2 separate regions of the Homo sapiens genome follow, and region 1 is linked to region 2. Evidence: promoter capture Hi-C in 16 types of primary human blood cells and fetal thymus (Javierre and others, 2016). All regions are on one chromosome and are shown on one strand. The core of a region is centred on a gene start or on the middle of the fragment in contact, and the rest is flanking DNA. Distances in the headings are between cores, read along the strand shown.

Evidence for each region. The method cuts DNA at HindIII sites, captures the fragments that hold promoters and counts their contacts. A CHiCAGO score of 5 or more calls a contact.
Region 1: a fragment that was not itself captured here is called in contact with the fragment with the promoter of ADCY3 in region 2 in 2 of 17 cell types (erythroblasts and megakaryocytes); the score reaches 5.5 in erythroblasts.

Annotation. Positions count from the first base shown.
Region 1 is chr2:24,386,435-24,393,055 of GRCh38, reverse strand. No RefSeq gene overlaps it. Among named protein-coding and RNA genes, the nearest start is that of ITSN2, 29 kb to the right of the region's middle. The HindIII fragment of the contact is 740 bases long and covers 1,823-2,562 here.
Region 2 is chr2:24,916,714-24,924,337 of GRCh38, reverse strand. ADCY3 (adenylate cyclase 3) reads left to right here and starts at 4,101. Exons shown (of 22, transcript NM_004036.5): 1 at 4,101-4,655; 2 at 5,154-6,025. The coding sequence starts at 5,351. It overlaps LOC124907742 (a long non-coding RNA gene), which reads right to left and starts at 3,994. Exons shown (of 2, transcript XR_007086246.1): 1 at 3,766-3,994; 2 at 2,880-3,340. RefSeq lists silencers at 3,547-3,636, 3,647-3,856, 3,897-3,956, 3,987-4,716 and an enhancer at 7,119-7,368. The HindIII fragment of the contact is 7,828 bases long and covers 545-7,624 here.

The sequences.
Region 1 (6,621 bases), core at 943-3,442, 530 kb after region 2:
GTCACCCTAGGGGAGCCATGGAGTTAGGTACAAGTTTTCTGCCACTACCAACACAGCAGCCTCCAGGGAAGAGGCACATAAAAAGGGGGCACAGCAATGGCAATAAATGCGCTTACATCTATTATTCTATCCCCTCCCACTCTGCATTCTTCTTCCAGTCACTCCAGTTAGCTGAATCGAACTGGATGCCAAAAATCAAAGGAGTGCAAGTCCATAGGTGTTATCTTCTCAGGATACGGAGCGGGGCAGAAAAATATGGCTAATGGATGTGGAGGGACAAAACACAGAACGAACACAGGTGCAGACAAGCAATGTCAGCAGATTTCTGGAAGATAGAAATTACTAGTGTTACTCAAATTATGAAAGCTTAAAACCAAGAGTATGCTAATGAGAAGAAAACTGATATTGCCAGAGGATCTTGGACATGCTCAGAATTTGGAGGCACCAGGTATCTCTAAAGGCAGAAATTCATGTTACAGATGAAAAGAGAAGGATCCATTGAAAAACCTTACATGGCTCACTCAGACCCCTAGAACTCCATTTTTCTTTTCTTTTCTTTTTTTTTTTTTTTTTTTTTTTTGAGACAGAGTCTTACTTTGTTGCCTACCCAGGCTAGAGTACAGTGGTGTGATCTCAGCTCACTGCAACCTCTGCCTCCCAGGTTCAAGCGATTCTCCTGCCTCAGCCTCCTGTGTAGCTGGGACTACAGGTGTGCACCACAACACCTGGCTAATTTTTTATATTTTTGGCAGGGACAGGGTTTTGCCATGTTGGCCAGGCTGGTCTCGAACTCCTGACCTCAAGTGATCCACCTGCCGCAGCCTCCCAAAGTGCTGGGATTACAGGCACGAACCACCGGCCCCGGCCAGAACTCCTTTTTCAAAGACAGATGGACCTTCTTTCCCACTCCAGCAGAAGACTGACTGTGTGTTAAGAAACTTACAGCATCTAAACATAGGGATACCAGGCATAGCTGAAGGCAATAGGAATTATCAACATTCAGAGGGGTATCACCATTATATTGCTAAGTTTAAGGTTGAACTAGTAATTATTACATAGAAAACTGCTAAAACAACCCACAGGGCAATTATTAATTCTAATATGAATAAAAATTTATCTTATCAGTATTATATTACTTGGCTTAACATTGAGCAAGTGTTATATAGTGAGATAATATAAACAGTATAAATATTGATATAAACAAAAATGTACTACAAATATATTGGGAGTATGAAGAGAGGGAAGGAGGTTTTAAGTGTGCTAAATTTTGTGACTCCATAATAGAACGTCAATAGATAACATATAAATAAAAATATGAGAGGTCAAGCATGGTGGTTCATGCCTGTAATCCCAACACTTTGGAAGGCCGAGGCAGGAGGATCACCTGAGCCCAGGAGTTAGAAACCAGCCTGTTCAACATAGTGAGACCCTGTCTTTACAAAAGAAAAATTAAAAATTAGCTAGGCATAGTGGTGCACAATTGCAGTCCCAGCTACTCAGGAGGTTGAGGTGGGAAGATCACTTGAACCCAGGAGTTCAAGGCCGCAGTGAACCATGATCACGCCACTGCCCTCCAGCCTGTGCAACAGAGAGTGATCCTGTCTCAAAAAAAAAAGTGTGTGTGTATATATGAATATACATATATATGTACATATGAAAATTATGTGTGTATATCTATATATATGAATATTTTTAGAAATATTTTTAGAAAAGTAGATGTAAATAGAAGAAACAGCTGAAAGAATTAAAAGTTTTTCTTCCTGAGGGGCAGGTTTCAGGGTGGAAATGGTGGTATAGTGTTCTACTATTGTCATTACAAGCTTTGTCATTGTGTTAGACTTTTTAAAATTATGTGTATATCTCACTTTGACAAAAATTATTATTATTATTTTTTAGAGACAGGGTCTCACCCAGGCTGGAGGGCAATGGCATGATCATGGCTCACTGCAACTTTGACCTCCTAGGCTCAAGGGGTCCTCCTCCCTCAGCCTCCCAAGTAGCTGGGATCACAGGTGCATGCCACCATATCCAGCGAATTTCTTATTTTTTGTAGAGATGATGTCTGTCTACATTGCCCAGGCTGGTCTCAAACTCCTGGGCCCAAGTGATTTTCCTGCCTCCACCTACCAAAGTGCTGGGATTACAGGCATGAGCCACTGCACCCAACTGGCAAAACTAAAATTGACATTTAAACAAAAGAAGAAAGGGATATATGTATTGCCTACTTAAAACAACAAACAAACAAACCCTTTTGGAGAAATGTGACAGAATCCAAAACTTCTACAAGGTATCTTTTACAATATCCAAGGTACAATCTGAAATTACTAGACATAAAAATGAAATGTGACCCCAGTACTCAAGAGTCTGATGCTGACATGCATCAAATGTTGAGTTATAACAAAGACTTTAAAGCAGCTATTAAAATTGTGCCAAACAGAGTACATATATAAAGGAAAATATTACTCATAATTAATGAAAGAAAATACAAGCAGAGAAATAAAAACTATAGTAACCAAATGTAAATTATACAATTGAAAAGTTTAATATCTGAAATTTAAAGCTTTACTGGACAGGCTTAGAAGCAGATTGAAGGTGACAGGAGAAAAAAGTCAGAAAACTTGATGAGAAATCAATAAAAATTACTCAATCTAAGTAACAGACAGAAAATGGATGGGAGAGGGCGGGAATGAATAGACTCTCAGGAAACTGAGGGGAAATAGCAAAAGAGCTAAAATATGTGTAACTGGAGTCTCAGAAGTAAGGAAGAGAATATGGGACAGAAAAATTATTTTGAAGAAAAAGAGGTTGAAATTTTCTAAATAGGTTGAAAGATAAATTTATAGATTTAAGAAGCTAAGTAACCCTCTCCCCACCAAAAAAAAAAATATGAAGAAAACCATACCTGCACACAGTATAGTCAAAATGCTGAAAACCAAAGATAAAGAGAAAATCTTGAAAGCCAGAGAAAACAACTCACTATATGCAGGGAATGATGATACAAATGAATGCTGTTTCTTCTTATAAATAATAGATATCAGAAGACAGTGAAACAATATCTTCAAGTATAGGATCAGAAAAAAGTAAATCAATCCAGAATTCTATAGCCAGCAAAACATCCTTTAAGAATGAAGGCAGCCGGGTGTGGTAGCTCACGCCTGTAACCCAGCACTTTAGGAGGCCGAGGCAGGTGGATCACCTGAGGTCAGGAGTTTGAGACCAGCCTGGCCAACATGGTGAAACCCCGTCTATACTAAAAATATAAAAATTAGCTGGGCATGGTGGCAGGTGCCTGTAATCCCAGCTACTCGGGAGGCTGAGGCAGGAGAATCACTTGAACCCGGGAGACAGAGGTTTCAGTGAGCCAAGATAGCGCCACTGCAGTCCAGCCTGAGCGACACAGCAAGACTCCGTCTCAAAAAAAAAAAAAAAAAGAAGGCAAAATGAAAAGAAAAGGAGGGGAACATCACTAATCATTAGGGGATTGCAAATCAAAACTACAGTGAGATACCACTTCACACTATTAGGATGGCTACTCTAAACAAAACAAACTCCAGGATTGGACATAGTGGCTCAAGCCAGTAATCCTAGCATTTTGGGAGGCTGCAGCAGGCAGATCCCTTGAGCTCAGGAGTTTGAGACCAGCCTGAACAACATGGCTAAACTCCATCTCATTTTTAAAACTATATAAATAAATAAACTCCAGAAAATAGCAAGCATTGTCGAGGATGTGGAGAAATTGGAATCCTTGTGCACTGTTGGTGGGAATGTGAAATGGTGAAGCTGCTGCAGAAAACAGTTACGGTGGTTCCTCAAAAATTAAAAATGGGGCTGGGCACGGTGGCTCATGCCTGTAATGCCAACACTTTGGGAGGCTGAGGTGGGCCGATCACTTGAGGCCAGGAGTTCAAGTCCAGCCTGGCCAACATGGCAAAACCCCATCTCTACCAAAAATACAAAAATTAGCTGGGCATGATGGCACATGCCTATAATCCCAGCTACTCGGGAGGCTGAGGCACAAGAATTTCTTGAACCTGGGAGGTGGAGGTTGCAGTGAGCCAAGATCATGCCACTGTACTCCAGCCTTGGTGATAGAGCAAGACTCCATCTCAAAAAAAAATTAAAAATTAAAAATGTAATTTGCATATGATTCATCAATTTCACTTTTGGGTATATTCTCAAAAGAATTGAAAGTAGGGTCTTGGCCAGGCAAGGTGGCTCACACCTGTAATCGCAGCATTTTGGGAGGCCGAGGCAAGTGGATCATGAGGTCAGGTGTTCGAGACCAGCCTGGCCAACAGAGTGAAACCCAATCTTTACTAAAAATACAAAAATTAGCCGGGCATGGTGGCACGTGCCTGTAGTCCCGGCTACTTGGGAGGCTGAGGCAGGAGAATCGCTTGAACCCGGGAGGCAGAGGTTATGGTGAGCCGAGATCGCGCCATTGCACTCCAGCCTGGGCAACAGAGCGAGACTCCATCTCCAAAAAAAAAAAAAAAAAGAAAGTAGGGTCTTGAAGAGGTATTTGTACACCCATGTTCATGCCAGCATTATTCACAATAGCTCTAAGGTGGAAGCAACTCAAGTTGCAGATAAATGGATAAGCAAAATGTTATGTATACATAAAATGGAATATTATTCAGCCTTAAAAAAGAAGGAAGTTCTGACACATGCTACAACACAGATAAAACTTGAAGACATTATGCTAATTAAGCCAGTCACAGAAAGACAAATATTGTATACTTCCATTTGTATGAGGTACTTAGCATAGTCAAAATCTTAGAAAGTAGAATCATGGTTGCTAGGAGCTGGTGGGAGGAGAAATGAGAGTTATTGTTTAGTGGATATAGAGTTTTTGCAACATGAAAAGAGTTCTGGTGATGGATGGTGGTGATGGTGAAACTGCCTTTGCAAAATTATGACAGTAAGAGAAATCTGACATGGCTGACTCCATCTTGCTTTTAGCCTCATAGGCTGGCTATCTTTGCATATTCCTGGGTGTAGGCCAAGCTAAGTTTGGGAGAAATTTAGTTTATAGCTTAAATGATAGTAGCCCTTCCCCCAAAACTAAACCTCCCTTGTAAAACTAATGAAAGACCACCAAGTTAGGAGGGTAAGAGGGTCCTGAATTCTGCTAAGTTATGTGCATAGTTAAATGATTACCAGCCATTACTCCGGAGGTCCCAAGATGTGTAACTTCCTCAATTACTCCTGTAAATATCATCACTATTGTGAACCTAAGATTGGCCTTTTGAGATATCTTTTCAGGTTTCTGCATTTCTTTTTTCTTTCTTTTGAGACAGAGTCGCACTCTGGCTAGAGTGGAGTGGCGTGATCTCAGTTCATTGTGACCTCCACCTCCTGGGTTCAAGCAATTCTTACATCTTACCCTCCTGAGTAGCTGGGATTACAGGCATGCACCAGCACGCCCAGCTAATTTTTGTGTTTTTAGTAGAGATGGGGTTTCACCATGTCGGCCAGGTTGGTCTCGAACTCCTGACCTCAAGTGATTCTCCTGCCTCAGCCTCCCAAAGTGCTGGAATTATACGTGTAATTCCTGCATGGCCAGGCTTTTGCATTTCTGGCTACTGGATGGCCCCACCCAGACCAGCGACACCTCTAGTGGTCCTCCCCCAGAAGCCGACTCATCACACCAGGACTGGACTGTTTTCCACACCCTGTGATGGCATCCCCAACCAATCAGAATGCCCCCTTCCCTAGCCCCCTGCTCACCAAACTCCTTGAAAAACCCTAGCCTCTGAGACTTCTGGGAGATTGATTTGACTAATAACTCTGTCTCGCTCATGGCATAGCTAGCCTTGCATCAGTTACATGCTTTCTTTACTGCAATGCCATGGTCTCAGTGGATTGATTTTGCCTGTGCAGCAGGCAGGAAGAACCCACTGGGTGATTACAATGGTTGCCCAATAATTGGAATGTACTTAATACTACTAAAAATACAAAAGTTAGCTAGGTGTGGTGGTGGGCACCTGTAATCCCAGCTACTCAGGAGACTGAAACAAGAGAATTGCTTAAACCTGGGAGGGGAAGGTTGCAGTGAGCCAAGATCATGCCCCTGCACTCCAGCCTGGGCAATAGAGTGAGAGGCCATCTCAAGAAAACAAAACAAAAAAACCCTACTGAACTGCACACTTTAAAACATTTAAGATGGTAAATTTTATGTTTGTGTAGTTTACCATAATAAAAACATTGGGAAAAAGAATGAAGGCAAATTAAGACACTTTGGTATGAACAAAAGCGAAGATAATTCATCACCAGGAGACTTACACAGGAATAGAAATAGAAATAGTAATGAACAGAGTTTAGAGGGATTTAGAGAGAAATAATAAATAGAGAGATAGAAAAAAAGAGACCAGGCCGGGCGCGGTGGCTCACTCCTGTATTTCCAGCACTTTGGGAGGCTGAGGTGGGCACTTGAGGCCAGGAGTTCAAGACTGTGGCCTAGGTTGCAGCCTTGACCTCCTGGGCTTAGGTGATTCTCCCCCCTCAGCCAGGAAAGTAGCTGGGACCACAGGCACATGCCACCATGCCCGGCTAATCTTTGTATTTAATTTTTGTATTTTTTTGTAGAGATGGAGTTTCACCATGTTGCCCACGCTGGTC
Region 2 (7,624 bases), core at 2,852-5,351:
CGAACACCCACCTTTGCCAGCCCTCCAGTGGAAAGCTCTGAGGTGCCTTCTGCAAGGCTCATCAGAGGGTCCCAGCAGGATCAAGGCCCCCTCCCACACCAGTGGCCAACTCCGTCACAAACCCTCATATTTACCGGCTTTCCTGCCTTCTCTGTTTTGAGCTTCCCAGGCTCCTGCTCTGTTTCCCTGGAATCACTTCCCCAGTTGAACCACCTGCATGCAGGCCGGGTCTCAAGCTCTGCTTTCAGGCCCCAGACAGGGCTCTCCTGGTGCCCAGCACCAGGGGAGCTAATGATCTTCTCTCTCCCACTTCTGTTTTCCCCCAGGACACAGAGTTCTGCTCTGATCTATTGTTTGCTGGATTCAAGAGCCACCACATTCCCCGGGGGGGCCAAACCATTCTTGTTTATCCAGTAACAATTAATTCTCAGCCATGATTTCTAGTCTTGAACCACACAAACAAAAAGTTGCCTTCAGCAAAGAGGCATCCCATCCAGGCAGATGCTGGATTGAGGTTGGGGGGGGTCAGGATGCCCTCCAAGCTTCGACCTAAGTCTATGATTCTGTCTTCCTTTTAGGACAAGCCACAGGGGCAAGTCACCCATGCAGCCATTTGAGGTCCTGAGTTGTGTGTGTATAGATTTCCTGTATCATTTGATTATAAAAGCGAAGCATGCCAGTTGTCCAGGTTACATCAATACAAAATGTATAGCTTGGAAAGTGAAAACAGCTCCCCCATAATCCCACCCTTTTCACTCGAGGGTGGATATTTTTCATTGCCCTGGGACCAGGACATTCTCAGTATCAGGGAATGAGGCCAGCTGGTCCCTTCAAGGACAGCCAGTGCCTTTATAAAGTACCATTTCTTCTTAGGGAGACTTCCATTCATTCAATGACTATTTTTTGAGTATCTACTAGGTGCCAGGTACTGGGGAAGCCACTGTGAGTGAGATGGATGAGGCCCTCGCGGCATTTTCCCTGATCTCCTCTGTGGCAGGATGTCAAGCAGCTCTCTTGCCCAGGAATATTCACCCAGATGCTTCTGGCTCCCCGGGAGTCCTCGCAAGGGCCTACTGCTGTCCCACTGCGTTTCCCATATCCACAGGGAAAGGCCGTGCCAGAACCCTGAACGCGGAGCAGGGATGGGAATGTGCTGTGCTCTTCCTGCGGCTGGGCCTTTGCAGGGAGGCTCCAGCCACCTGGAACGCCTGCCTTTCAGGCCCATCAGATCCTTCCCTCTTGCCCTGAAAGGCCCTGTCTCTGATCACCTCAGCCAGAAGTCACCCCCAACTGTAACCTGTGTACACCTGAGGGTCTGCCTCATGAGTCAACATGGTGCCTTGGCAGAACTATAAGGCTCCTCTGGTTTCCCCAGTGCCCGCTGAACAGGGGCCCACAGAGGAGAGATAGGGATGGTGGAAGAACAGGGAGTGGGACAGTGAAGCCAGCAGGCAGGGGCTGGAGAGGCAGGGATCAATTTGTTGTTGTTCTTTTTATATGAGGGTGCCTCTGTGTGGAACTCTCTCCCTTCATGGGGTGGGAGGCTGGGGCATGAGTGGTGGCAGAGGGCCCAGCAGAGAACCCTCTCAGCTTAGGAGCTGGGCATGGCCTTGCGGACAGGGTGCCACACTGAGAATCACAGGGCTGGCATGTATGCCAAGGAAGGGGAAGGGACCCACAGAGGGTGCAACATGGTGTCTCTTGTGCCAAAGCAGGACCAAGCACAAGATTTATCAGCCTTTTAAAAAACATTAGCACATCTCTCCCCCAACCCCCACTTTTTTTTGAGATAGGGTCTCATTCTGTTGCCCAGGCTGGAGTGCAGTGGTACGATCTTGGCTCACTGCAACCTCTGCCTCCTAGGGTCAGGCGATTCTCCCACCTCAGTCTCCTGAGCAGCTGGGACTTCAGGCACCCGCCACCACGCTCGGCTAATTTTTGTATTTTTTGGTAGAGACAGGGTTTTGCCATGTCAGCCAGGCTGGTCTCGAACTCCTGACCTCAAGTGATCTGCCTGCCTCGGCCTCCCAAAGAGCTGGGATTACAGGCATGAGCCACTGCGCCTTGCCGTACATTACATCTCCCTTTGTAAAACATAAAAGTCATGTCCTCTTTAACATCATGTGACAATTCAAAATAAATGTTTAAACCTCCAGCAAAGTCCAGGCATGATGGCTCACACCTGTATTCCCAACACTTTGGGAGGCTGAGGCAGGCAGATCACTTGAGGTCAGGAGTTCGAGACCAACCTGGCCAACATGATGAAACCCTGTCTCTACTAAAAATACAAAATTTAGCCAGGCATGGTGGCAGGTGCCTATAATCCCAGCTACTTGGGAGGCTGAGGCAGGAGAACTGCTTGAACCCAGGAGGCGGAGGTTGCAGTGAGCTGAGATGGCCACTGCACTCCAGCCTGGGCGACAGAGTGAGACTCTGTCTCATAAATAAATAAATAAATGCCTTCCTTTTTAAAAAACAAAAACAAAAAACAAACCACAAATAACTCCCTCCAAAAAAAATCCCCCCCAAAACCCAAAAACCTCCAGCAAATTAAAACAATGGGGCAGCCCAGAGCAGTGGCTCATCCCTGTAATCCCAGCACTTTGGGAGGCTGAGGTGGGCGGATCACTTGAGGTCAGGAGTTCAAGACCAGCCTAGCCAACATAGTGAAACCCCATCTACTAAAAATACAAAAATTACCCCGGGCTTGGTGGTGTGTGCCTGCAATCCCAGGTATTCAGGAGGCTGAGGCAGGAGAATTGCGTGAACCTGGGTGGTGGAGGTTGCAGTGAGCTGAGATCACAACACTGCACTCCAGCCTGGGTGACAGAGTGAGACTCAGTCTCGAAAAAATAAAAAATAGAAATAAAATAAAACAATGGGGCAAAGTTTTGCTTTATTTAAATTACCAAACTCCTATATCTGATGTTAGGTCCCCTACCTTTGGAATCAAAGCCCTGCGAAGTATGGGCTGAAGGTGGCGCCTTTTCAGACAGAGTGTGAGGGAACGGTAGAAACAGCAGTGGCAGGATCGATTCTCTAATGGATCCATTCCCCGAGGGATGCAAGGTGATGCCTGAGGTTCTGGAAGGGGTGCCCGCGGATAACTCTCAGGGGCATGGGGTGGCAGCTCCATCCAGGGTCTGGATAGCCAAGTTTCTCTCCCCTCTGTTCATTCCTTCAGCTCTCCCCAGGGGAGATGACCCCCTATTGCTGCTGGCTGTCCTCAGCACTTACCTTCCCACACATGCTTTTGTCCCTTTTGTCCCAAAACATTCTATCTCTTTCCTCTTCCTTTATTTAAATTCCCAAAGCCTGTAGTTGATCTTAGCACGGTGTTCTGTCAAATGCAAGGAAAATAATTTATACTATGGTGTAAGAGACTGATAGGTTTAACTATTCAAAGGAGCATTCGCATCTTTAAGGGACAGTTTGTGAACTCAAACACATCTCAAACGGGTAGAATGTGCACGGGAAATCTCTTCGAAGCAGGGTCTCAGGAACTCTTCCAGTTCCACGTGTGTAGTGCCCACCGGGCCACCGCCACCCGCCTCCTGGGAGCAGGACAGGGCTCCGCTGCCGAGCCCCTCTGCGGAAAGCTCAGGCCCGGCGCTCCGGAGTCTGGGCTCCCGGGGTGGGCGGGGATACTTAGGCCCCACGTGCCCCGCGGCGGAGCGGTCCCCAAACCTGAGCCCTGGCCTCTGCCGGCCCGGAAGGAAGCCGCGGCGGAGGAGGGGGCGGCGGGGTGCCCCGAGCGCGCCTCACCTGCGGGCGGGCGCGTCCCGGGCTTCCATCCTCCTAGACCGGGCCTCCTCGCTGGAAGGGGTGGATTCGCCCCAGCCCTGCCGCCCACCGCCCACCGCCCACGCCCGCGCCCGCGCCCGCGCTTCCACGCAGCCATCGCCCCAGCCCGCCGCCCGCGCCGGATCGGGGGCCGCCCGGGCCCCTCCACCTCTCGCCCGCGCGGGTCCTGGGACCGCCGCCCGGCGCCTCCCTCGCCGCCCCACTCCGGAACGCGCCGCCGAGAGGGCGGAGACTGGGGCGAGGGAGGGGCCGCCCCGCCCGCCTCCCGCCTCCCGCCTCCCGCCTCCCGGGGCCTGGAGCGCGCGTGGCCCCGGAGCCGCCGGCGCCGCGCGGGGAATAGCTGTGCAGCACGCCGAGCCCGGACTCGGCTGGCTCGGCTCGGCGCGGGCGGGCGAGAGGATGCTGGCGGGCTTCCCCGGGCTCGGCCCGCGCTCCCGCCGGGGAGGGCCCCGCGCGCGCCCCTAGCAGCCGCCGCCGCCGCGGGTGCAGGGGAGGGGTCCGGAGAGCCGCGCTCGCCGCCGCCCGCGCCTGCCGGCCCCCGCACGGCCCCTGCCCCTGAGCCTCAGCCCCAGGGCGGGCGCGCTGGGCCGGCGCCCACGGATCTCCCAGCCCTCGTCGCCGCCTCCTCCTTCCCCCTGCGGCCGGGCGCCCGCGGATGCTGAGGGGCAGCCCTGCGCCTCTCCCGGTCGGATCCCGGGCCTGACGGCGGGAGATCGCGCTCCGGCCGGGCCCCGAGGCGCTGCCGGGGCGGCGCGGCTCTGCGGGGAGCAGCCCTCGGGCGCGCCGAGCTCTCCCGCCCCAGCCCGCGCGGGGACCGTCCCGGAGCACGCGGTGGCCGAGTTCCCGCACAGGTAAACGCAGGGGCAGGGCCAGGCTTCCGGGGGGGAAGACAGCGCCCCGAGCGTGGGAAGGGGGCCGGATCGGAGCCCGAGCCTCCAAGGGTTTGGTGGAAAAAGGAAGTAAACAGAAGGAAGGCTCAGGAATCCCCCACGATGGTCCTGATTTCTTTCCGGCACATTTTATTTACAGCTTCTAAGGACTGGGCCTGGAGGGAATTTAGGTGAGGAAGTCGGGGACTGAGAAAGAAGAGATGACAGAGAGAAACCGGTTACCAGGGATGGAAAGGCGGCTAGGCCCTTCCACAAGCCAGGGACAGGAAATTGAGTGTCTGGCGTGGACAGGACTAAGTGTGCCTGCGGTGGGCGGTGGTGTGAGCCGGGGGTGGCAGGGAAGGCCCTGGGTTGGGAGGCTCTTGCAGCAGAGATCCTTTTATGAGGGTTAGGGCGGGTCATGGGGAAACCGCAAGGTAGGAGGGAAGAGGTGCTTCTACTCAGCAATGCCCTTTTCAGTTCTAGCTGATCAGTGCTACCTGTGCTCTGGAAACCCGCTCTGCGTTCCTGCTGGAGGTGGCCTCCCCTCCGCCCCAGACAAGAAGAGGCCCTCAGCCCTCCCCCGGTCTCAGAGAGCCCTGAGAGGAGGCCCAGTCCAGAGCTCTTCCTCCGTTCCCAGTCCACTTCTCTAGGGCCAGTAGCAGACACCAGCCAGTATGCCGAGGAACCAGGGCTTCTCCGAGCCCGAATACTCGGCCGAGTACTCAGCCGAGTACTCCGTCAGCCTGCCCTCCGACCCTGACCGCGGGGTGGGCCGGACCCATGAAATCTCGGTCCGGAACTCGGGCTCCTGCCTGTGCCTGCCTCGCTTCATGCGGCTGACTTTCGTGCCGGAGTCCTTGGAGAACCTCTACCAGACCTACTTCAAAAGGCAGCGCCACGAGACCCTGCTGGTGCTGGTGGTCTTTGCAGCCCTCTTTGACTGCTACGTGGTGGTCATGTGTGCTGTGGTCTTCTCCAGCGACAAGCTGGCTTCCCTCGCCGTGGCTGGAATTGGACTGGTGTTGGACATCATCCTCTTCGTGCTCTGCAAAAAGGGGCTGCTCCCGGACCGGGTCACCCGCAGAGTGCTGCCCTACGTGCTGTGGCTGCTCATAACCGCCCAGATCTTCTCCTACCTGGGCCTGAACTTCGCGCGTGCCCACGCGGCTAGTGACACGGTGGGCTGGCAGGTCTTCTTTGTCTTCTCCTTCTTCATCACGCTGCCCCTCAGCCTCAGCCCCATCGTGATCATCTCCGTGGTCTCCTGTGTGGTGCACACGTTGGTCCTGGGGGTCACCGTGGCCCAGCAGCAGCAGGAGGAGCTCAAGGGGATGCAGCTGCTGCGGGAGGTGAGTCCTGCCCACTGTCCCCCCACAGCGTCCTCTCCTGCAGCTCTCACCAACTTGGGACCTGTTGGAGTTGCTGTTTGCTTTGCCTTTGAGTCAAAATGTGTCCTGGGGGCCTCCGGGGCTCTCACCTCTCTCCCTAGTCCCTGCCTTTTCACCCCTGTGCCATTACCCGGAGTCTGCCTGTGCTTGGCCCCAGGGAAAGGAGGATGTCAGGGCATTGGGCCTCAGGGCCACTCTTCACCTGTGCCCAGTCTAAGTGTGTGACAGGAAGGCCCACCCAGGGCTGGTCTTGAGGCAGCATTGTCCTGGCCATTCCCTGTCAGTGACCCTGGCAAGGAGGACCTCCCTTGGGAAGAGGGCTCCTTGATTCCCATCTCTCCCCAGCACTGACTAGCTGTGTGGACTCAGTGCCCCTTTGTCAAATGGGGATAACGTCCGCTCTGCCTGCATGACACGGTTGTTGTCAGGATTGCAGGAGATGTGGGGGAAAGCGCATTAGGATACGTGAAGGGCTGCACAGAGGGAAGACGCAGTTGTCATATTTCCTGCCTCCGGGAGCTCGGGGTGCCTGGGGAGTTCTATGAAGTGGAGAATGGTGGTCTCCCCACTGAAGGTGTGGTGTGGGGATGCAAATGGGGACAGTCATGCCGGCCACTGTGACGTAGGGTCTCCTGGTCCTAAAGCACGCATTCTGCTGGTCCTGGAGCACGCTTTCTACTGGAAGGGGTGGAATTTCGGCCTCAGCTTAACTATTATAGTATTGTGTTCCCACCAAGTGCCAGGCCCTCAGGGGCTGCAGAGACCAGGGGACCTGAGGGACAGTAGGCAGTGTGTGTCCCTGGGGAGCCAGCAAGCCGGTGACCAGAGAATGAGGCGGAGATGTCTGCATCTGGGTTTGGTGCCCAGCCTGCCAGCCTCGTGCCAATGATGGTCAAGAGAGGCTCCCCCACTTCCTGCCCCTGCAGTGCTCTGTCTGGTAGAGATGTCTTAACTCCCACGCCAGCTCTGTTCTGTGGTTAGTGGGGCTGGGGTAGAGTCAGCTCTGAAGCGGTGACCTTCTGGGTGTCAGGAGAGGCAGGGCGTGCCCAGAATCCTTGCTGACTGACGTGAGCCTCTAGCAGCCATGGAGGTCAGTGCCTGGGTCCTGGAGACCAGGTGCTATGTGCAGGCCCAGGGTGGACAGACAGAATCTTCCACTCCTCTGCTGATTTCTCCACTCATGTCTCATCCTGCTGATTTGTTCTAGAAATGGGTAGAGGATGTTAACATAGGCAGGGCCTGGCAGGGCATCTAGCCCAGACTACCCATTTTACAGAGGAGGAAACAGAGATGAGTGATAACTGGTTCACTGTCACCCAGCACTTTGGTGGCAGAAACAGGACGGGAGCCCAGGCATTGACCCCCAGCCCAGGGCTCATTTGTGTATGTTCCTTGGAGCACTGAGAGCTGCCTGAGAGCAGGAGCTTTGCTTCCCACCCCACCTCCTGGAGACAGTGGCTATGTGCTGCCCTGCCGTCCCCACCCCAAATCTCTGTAGAGGGGGCTGTGAGTTTCTGGTCATTGACTAGGTGGAAACACCAGTCATATCTCTTCAGGCCA